3 separate regions of the Homo sapiens genome follow, and all the other regions are linked to region 3. Evidence: promoter capture Hi-C in 16 types of primary human blood cells and fetal thymus (Javierre and others, 2016). All regions are on one chromosome and are shown on one strand. The core of a region is centred on a gene start or on the middle of the fragment in contact, and the rest is flanking DNA. Distances in the headings are between cores, read along the strand shown. Region 1 overlaps LMO2 (LIM domain only 2). Region 2 holds the start of CD44-AS1 (CD44 antisense RNA 1). Region 3 holds the start of CAT (catalase).

Region 1 (2,873 bases), core at 255-2,754, 580 kb before region 3:
AAAGCTAAGAAGACAGTGAAAGGGACAATCCTGGAAGACAGGGCTCGGGGATGAGCCCTAGAAAGGAGGCCGAACTTTCAGGATGTCAGGAAGCCAGGGAAGGTCGGCTCCAGAAGGAGGGCCGGCTAGTGCAGTCTTCACCAGCAGGCAGAGGGAACTCAGATGAAACTGGCATTTGGATCTGGCATAACTCCTCCCTTTTCTGAGCCCTCTCCTTGTCTGCAGCAACCGCTCATCATTCCCCTAGGCTGCCCCCTGGCTCCTCCTCTGTGGGCAAGGCTCTCAGCTGATGTGATCTATCATAAGGAGTTAGGCAAGTATTACCTGTCCCCTCCCAGGGGAACCCTCATTTCAGAAGAGCAGCTGGAGAGAGACCCTAGGGGCCCCTTTGAGAGGGTACTGACCAGGAATGCAATAAAACGGGCATTCTTCTGAGGCTCCCAAACTCTATCATGTCAACAGCCACTGATTCTACCCATGGGGAGAGCTGGCCTTGAATACCTCCATAAGCTGCAAAGCACATCTCCCCCTGATTATTCGCTGGGGCCCCAGCTGCTGGGAGACAGGGAGTTCCACAGAAAACACGCGGTGCAGCTAATCGTGCCTCTGAGATATGGAGGACCAACAGCATCTCTCCACCATGAAGGGAGGATCTTAATTCATGGCCCTCGCTGCCCACTGGCATGAATCAAAAGGGAAACTTCTTTTCTGACATTTAAATCAAGACTCTCCCAAGCCTCAGTTGATCAGTCACTTATTTCAGGCAGTATTCAGTGTCAAGGTGGGAGACAGAACATGGCAGGGCTCAGTGCAGTGGTTCTCAAAGTGTTGGTCCTGGGACCAGCGACATCAGCACTGCCTGGGAACCTGACAGAAATACAAATTCTCAGGCTGGGCGCAGTGGCTCACACCTGTAATCCCAACACTTTGGGAGGCTGAGGCAGGCAAATCACTTGAGCTCACAAGTTCGAGACCACCCTGGGCAACATGGTGAAACTGTGTCTTTACAAAAAATACAAAAATTAGCCGGGTGCGGTGGTGCATGCCTCTAGTCTCAGCTATTAATACTTGGGAGGCTGAGGTGGGAGGATGGCTTTAGCCCGGGAGGTGGAGGTTGCAGTGAGCCGAGATCATGCCACTGCACTCCAGCCTGGGCCACAGAGCCATACCTTGACTCAAAAGAAAAGCAAAAACTAAACAAACAAACAAAAAAACAAATTCTCAGCCCTCCTCCTTCCCTACCCAACTGAGACACCCTGGGGAGAAGGCCCAGCAGTCTGTGCGTTAATGAACACTTCCGGGGGACTGGTTGCAGGCTGACATTTGAGAATCAACAGCAAAAGTGCAGTAACACAAGTACCGGAAGCAGAGAAGACCCAGCTTCAATGTCCCGGACCAGCCCTGAGTGACCCTGGAGAGACCTCTGATTCTCTGAGCCTCAGTGAAATGGCAGCCATCATAGGCTCCACCTCACTCAGCTGTTAAAACAACCAAACGAAGCATGTCAGGGCACCCATGGTCAAGGGCTAAGCCAACGCTGGTTATGTTTTAACACATCTTGGGTGTATTCCCAGCTGTGCCAGTCTTGCTGCAGGAAGTAATTTTCACTCGTGGCTGAAAACATAGCATGTTAGCAGGTGGTTTCTACATAAAACCTTTAGGACAGTTTTAGGTGAATGCTTGCTCTTATTGGAAGTTCTGGTTGATTTCAGGATATCAGAGAATCAGTGGGTACATTCTGAGAGGTTGTAGGGGACCTAAGGGCAGTTGACACATTTTGCAATATTTGGGCGAGATTAATGGAATTGACAAGAGGTGGTCTGTGAGTGGAGAGCTCATTGTTCGGGCCAGGGCCAGCTAATTTGCCTCTGAATCCTGCTTTCCATTTGAAGATCTCTGAGTGTTTTCAAAGCACCGCCTGGGAGCAAACTCATTACTGGGGGGAGAACATTTTATCCCAACGTAGCAGATGGTGGAGCTGCAGGTAACCGCCACATTGGAGGTCACAGAGTGGAAAGACAGTTCTGGTTTCCTGACTGCTCTGTAAGTTAAGTTTGGGCCTGAGCAAGGATGAACGACTGAGAAAACAGTGTGCATGGAATGAATCCAACTGCCTGGGGTGTGCGATCCTTAAGGAAGGAGGGAGCTTATTAAAGGGAAGTCAGGGGGTAAATTACAACCCACATCAGGCAGCTATGAAGGGAAGGACAAAGGACGAATATGTGGGAGACAAGTTCAGGTCCCAGCATGACCTCTAACTTGCCAGGTGACCTGAGCAAATGGAGTCCCCTGTACAGGCTTCTGTGACTTAAGCCATAAAGCAAGGGAACTGAAAAAGAAGGTCTCTGTAGCCCCTTCCAGCTCTGGGATTCGGAGATTCTAATATTAGTAAAAAATAAGCCGGGACTTGACACCTAACTTGAGCATTAACCTCTGGCACCAAGAATTGGTATCTTAGGCTGGATATCCCAGAAGCAGCCCCTGAGGCAAGGATTGATGTGCCAGTGATTTATGAATGAGGCATTCTCAGGAAAAACCTGGAAGGCAGCAGGGGAGGCTGGAGGGAAGGGGAGGAAGCCAAGCCAAGTTGTATCCTCAGGCAAAGTCCCTCAGAGGGGAGGGACCCTGGAATATAAGTTATGCCTGGCTCCAGGCAAGGCTGCGGGGCTTGGTACTCCCACCATGTCTGTCACTGGTTAAGGTCCGTTGGGGGTCTAGTTGGGGCAGGCATACTTCTGGCTCTAACAGATTCAGGTGCTGGCTGTTAAAAGCAAAACCACTGCCATCACCGCCACCCCACCACTCCCAGCACACAAGAATTAGTGAAAAGGGATCCAAGGAGATCTGGCTCAGCACAGACATGAACAGCTGCT
Region 2 (2,743 bases), core at 116-2,615, 780 kb after region 3:
CCGTCCCCCAAAAAAGAACTGAAGCATTTAGAATCATAGTGGCAGTGGTGGTGGTGGTGATGGTGATGGTGATGGTGATAATGATGGTGATGGGATGGTGACGGTCATGGTGATTTTGGTAGTGGGAGTATTGGTGTGGCATTTCAGCAAATGTTGTTTTCATTTGTTTTAACCATCAGCCAAGGAACAAAGCAATCTGTCTCTTCAATATAGTTACACAGGTGACTAAGTGTCACCCGCTTCCACCTTCTCTAATCAAGGAAATGGTGACGATCAGGTTACTATAGATTCCTTATAAGGTGCCTTCATAATGGATAACTGTAGCCATTTTATGTAAGCATTGTCCTGTGATTAAAAAAAAAAAAAGATTCCAGTATGCTTTTGAAAAATGTGGGTGGGGGAGAGAGTTTTAATATGCTGCATTCAAGATTTGACCTATGGATTTAGATTCTAGCAATTCATGAGGTTGTCTTAATCTAAAGCTTTCTGGTGATAGATGTTTGAGAAGCTAGGATTATATTAACTAGTCATGTTGAAACTACAGATTTAACTTTAAAAAATTATTTTAAACTTACTATAATACCCATATTCCAATACACATTATTAATGTTAGCTATCATCTCACCATTTCCTTTTTTACTTATTTTCAATTTTTTTTGAAAATAAGTAGTTGACCTTTCTCTTTGAATCTTTACATCATTCAATCCCAAGATTCCTTATTGCATACTAATTTCCTGCCGCCAAGAAATCTCTGTTTCATGCCCTAAGCCAGAGTATGCCCATTTGCAGTGATTATGTTTCTCATAATCCAATTCATATTGTCCTTATTTAAAATGTACAATGTCTAGTCTCAACCTCATACCTGCAAAGATATCACAATATTTTTGTTAGCATGTTCCTTACCACAGTTCTTGGATTTCTACCAAAACAAAGTTTCTACAAAACTTCCTGTGGTCATCCTTCTTAGCCTTTGCTGCCCCAGTTTCCTTAATTCTTATTAAAGTTCTAGCTCATTTATCAGTGGATTAAGCAATGAACGGTAATTAACATTGTGGACCCATTCAAGGCTGTTTTGCCATCATTTTTTGGAATACCTTAAAAAGACTAAACTTTGTGATAGGCTGTATAAGAATGCAAAGGTAAAGAAATGCAGATGGGAGTGTAAGTGAAAACATGCAGTACTGACCTTCCTGATTGCTCATTACAGGAGACCAAGACACATTCCACCCCAGTGGGGGGTCCCATACCACTCATGGATCTGAATCAGATGGTGAGTTCAAAACTGCTTTAGTCATTTACTGTTATAATCATTGAGCCTAATGATGACTACCAACGAAGTATGAGTCAGTGTCTCCAGAGAAGTGGTTCTCAAACCTTCTTAGCATACATCACAATTGCAGGGAGGGCTTATTAAACCACAATGCTGGACCCCACCCTTAAGGTTCCTGATTCAGTAGGTCTGGGGTGGAGCCCAAGCATTTGCATTTCTAATCAGTTCCCTGGTAATACTGACACTGCTGGGACAGGGATTGCACTTTGAGAGCTACTGCTCTGGAGGAAAGCCTTGCATCTGAAAGCCTCAGGAAGAATTCAAGCAGTGTCCCAATTTAACCTTGCACTACACCAGAGTGATTAAGAGCTTGAGCTTTGTAGCAAAAATGGCCTGAGTTCGATTCCAGCCCTCCGCATATTAACTGAGCAAGATGCTTTAAAGGGTCTGAGACAACATTTCTCAACTAATAAACTTGGAATAATAACAATTGTCACAGGACATTGTTTCAAAGACTAAATGATAGAATACATGTAAAGCATTTAGCATAATCCTGGCACATGATATCATCACTGGTATTTGTTGGGAATTTACTGTGTGCCAGCAGCATCTTTCTAAACACTTTACATGTATTAGGTTGGGCCAAATGGAACTGCCATTATTGTAGGTCAAGAACAGGTCAATATCGGCCAGGCACGGTGGCTCACACCTGTAATCCCAGCACTTTAGGAGGCCGAGGCAGGTGGATCACGAGGTCAGGAGTTCGAGACCAGCCTGGCCAACCCTGTCTCTACTAAAAATACAAAAATTAGCCGGGCGTGGTCCTGCGCACCTGTAATCCCAGCTACTCAGGAGGCTGAGGCAGGAGAATTGCTCGGACCTGGCAGGCAGAGTTTGCAGTGAGCCAAGATTGCACCACTGCACTCCAGCCTGGGTGACAGAGCAAGACTCTGTCTCAAAAAAAACCAAAAAACAAAAAACAAAAAAACAGGTTAATATCAGCAAATTCATAGAGTTTATCTAGTATGAACTCATTCAGTCATCCTATAAACTCTGTGACATAGGTAAGTACTATTATTATCCCCATGTTACAGATGAGGAAACTAAGGCTCAGAGAAGGTAAGTAACTTGGCAGAGTTGACAGGACCAGAGAGTGATGGAGCCACCTTTCAAGCCTGGAGGGCCTTGTATTACTTCTCATAGCACAGTCTGGAGAAGGCATTCCATAATGACCATAATTACTCCCAGGCATGAATTCTTAAATAGACTCCTGTTTGTTGTGATTCAGATCACACCCCTACAAACCTTACCCCAGACTGCAAAAGTCTGACATGAGGTAGGTTTACTAATTACTTCTACTGCTGGGCTACTGGGAGGTTCTGCCAGTGCTGCCTTACTGTGGTCTCCCTGAACATCATAAATCCAGGTGACCCCATGTAAATGATTTAAGCCATATCAATTATTGTCTCCCCT
Region 3 (2,700 bases), core at 98-2,597:
AAGCAAATATACAAAAAGCTGAGAATAGTCCCTGGTATATAGTAAGTGCTCAATAAATTATGGATGGGAGGATCCTGACCCACATGGAGTTTACAGTCTTGGCAGTATGGATCGGGCAGGTAGAAAAAGACACCAAATTACACAGCCAACAGCATCTTTATAATTGTTTTTAATATAGGAAAAGTATAGGGTGCTAAAGATCAATTTGTGGCTTTCTTTTCCAATGAACTGCTAAAGTTCCACTTTTATGCCCAAGATTCTTATCATACTTTTGTAAGATCAAGAACAACATGTGAAGTTTCCACTATTATATATCCACCCATTATATGTAGTTGTACTGGAAAAAATTAAAAGCTGATAACTTTTAATTTGAAGATGATGGTATATACTATGTATATATATTAAGGTGCTTAAAGATAAATCCTAGCACCTGAGGAGGTGTAGAAATCATTCAAACTCTTTGATTACAATGACAAACTAGTCAGTAACTTACTAAATATTGTACTATATATTACTAAGTATTTTACTCTTCAACATAGCTTTTTAAAGACACAAAGCTTTTCAAAATTCCTGCTTACCTGGGGGTAAAATTTGGGGAAGCAGATTTCTCCAGTGTTTAAAGAAGCCAATTTGGCAGTGTACCAGAGTTGAATACATTTTTCCCATCACAAGGGAATACATTTTTCCCATCTAAGTTAAGTTGTTTTTCTCTGGTAAAGGAGGAAATCAACACCCATCTGTACGGAGATAAACGTTTCAGAGTGTTTTTATATTAAATAATTAGTATACTAGTCTAGTAAGTGATAATCCACGAATAAGTTAAGAAGAGCTAAGAAAGAAAAAGAAAAGCATCCATCCATCCTTTGGTTGCAAATAATACTTACATTAGCGTATGGCAAAATTTAATTTTGTACAGAGTAATTTAACCCAGGATTGCTGACTTTTTAAGAGCTGAGAAAGCATAGCTATGGAGCGCAAGGCCCCACCCAGCAGGGTCTAAGTATTCCGTCTGCAAAACTGGCAGGCCACCAACGGCCGCGTCCCAGGGCGGCCTGAAGGATGCTGATAACCGGGAGCCCCGCCCTGGGTTCGGCTATCCCGGGCACCCCGGGCCGGCGGGGCGAGGCTCTCCAATTGCTGGGCCAGAGCGGGACCCTTCCTTTCCGCACCCTCCTGGGTATCTCCGGTCTTCAGGCCTCCTTCGGAGAGCCCTGCTCCGAGCCCATTGGGCTTCCAATCTTGGCCTGCCTAGCGCCGAGCAGCCAATCAGAAGGCAGTCCTCCCGAGGGGGCGGGACGAGGGGGTGGTGCTGATTGGCTGAGCCTGAAGTCGCCACGGACTCGGGGCAACAGGCAGATTTGCCTGCTGAGGGTGGAGACCCACGAGCCGAGGCCTCCTGCAGTGTTCTGCACAGCAAACCGCACGCTATGGCTGACAGCCGGGATCCCGCCAGCGACCAGATGCAGCACTGGAAGGAGCAGCGGGCCGCGCAGGTACACTCTGTGCTCCCCGAGCGGGCCCGAAGGTCCGTTTAGAAAGCGGGGGCGTCGGCAAGTAAAGGCCCGGCTTCCCCCGGGGCGGCGCTTGGAGGGACTGTACCGCGGCTCACTGGGCAGGGGGGATCCCCTTCGGTGCAGACGGACTTTTACATTCGCCGAAGCAGGGGAGGGGGGTCCGGGTAGTGGGGCGCGGGACTGCAGGCTTTGTTGTCCGCGACAGGCTCGGGTGGTTGCTTCAGAATTTTGCACTTTTGCCAACTGGGACAGAGGTCGCAGCTTGAGGACAGATTGAGGGCTCATGGGGAAAGAGGCAGAGAGCTGCAGCTGCAAGGAAGTCAGTGAGGGGAGAAGTGGAACCAGGCTCTAATGGTGCCCTTCTTGAAATACTGTTTACACGCTTTCATAGTTGTGGGGTCCCAGCAGGGCAGGGATTGTGTTTTACAATCTTGAGGTCTCCAGCACCAGTCACAGTGACTGGTACGTACTATGCACATTATTAAACGACTAAATAAAAGAACTTTTACATTCATTGTCTCATTTGCACTTCAAAATGTCAAGCCTAGCATTTTAGAGCTGGGGGGTGACATTAGGGATTGATTAATGCGTTTATTCTATTCTTTGAGCACCTGTAGGTGCTAGGCACTGTTCGGGGCAAGGTGTACAAATTCCAGTGCGGCAAGAACAACACCCTTGAGAAGCTGAGAGTCTAGTCTGGGAGACGAGACACATAAACAGATGATTACACTCCAGCGTGGTGAGGGCTCTAATAGAGGTTATCTGTAGAATGTAGAGGGAGTGACCAGGTGGGCCGGACAAAGCAGGTGACATTTGAACAGGAATTTTTTTAAATGAGTAGGATTTTAACTTGGTGGTGGGGGAGGCATTCCTGGCCTGTGCCCACGGCTGCAGAGTCTCAGAGGGCATCTATGAGGAGGTTGGATTAGATGAGACCACATCTGGTCTGAGTCTACTGTTGGCAGATTGGCCCAGGGAGTCTAAAGGTCTTGCCCTGTTCCCTGGCTGCTGGTTAATGGTAGACAGAGGACTGCAGCCCTGTTTTCCCTATTCTGCCTAGTGCTCTTGCTCAAAACTCAGGTTCGTGAACTGGGGTATTAATGCTAAGTGCTCATGGATTGCTTTAATGGTTCCCTGTTTGGGAAAAGGCTGCCATTCTCCTCCAAGGGCCTGGAAAATCTCCCCT

Evidence for each region. The method cuts DNA at HindIII sites, captures the fragments that hold promoters and counts their contacts. A CHiCAGO score of 5 or more calls a contact.
Region 1: a fragment that was not itself captured here is called in contact with the fragment with the promoter of CAT in region 3 in 1 of 17 cell types (fetal thymus); the score reaches 5.3 in fetal thymus.
Region 2: a contact is called between the fragment with the promoter of CD44-AS1 here and the fragment with the promoter of CAT in region 3, in 1 of 17 cell types (neutrophils). The highest score is 6.9, in neutrophils.

The regions. Positions count from the first base shown.
Region 1 is chr11:33,859,593-33,862,465 of GRCh38, forward strand. The region is part of intron 5 of LMO2 (LIM domain only 2); the gene reads right to left. Among named protein-coding and RNA genes, the nearest start is that of LMO2, 31 kb to the right of the region's middle. The HindIII fragment of the contact is 4,505 bases long and covers 1-2,873 here.
Region 2 is chr11:35,213,645-35,216,387 of GRCh38, forward strand. It overlaps CD44-AS1 (CD44 antisense RNA 1), which reads right to left and starts at 1,366. Exons shown (of 2, transcript NR_174965.1): 1 at 1,187-1,366. CD44 (CD44 molecule (IN blood group)) reads left to right here. Exons shown (of 18, transcript NM_000610.4): 15 at 1,208-1,270. RefSeq lists an enhancer at 596-1,795. The HindIII fragment of the contact is 2,794 bases long and covers 481-2,743 here.
Region 3 is chr11:34,437,587-34,440,286 of GRCh38, forward strand. CAT (catalase) reads left to right here and starts at 1,348. Exons shown (of 13, transcript NM_001752.4): 1 at 1,348-1,493. The coding sequence starts at 1,428. RefSeq lists enhancers at 1,161-1,210, 1,381-1,680. The HindIII fragment of the contact is 7,598 bases long and covers 556-2,700 here.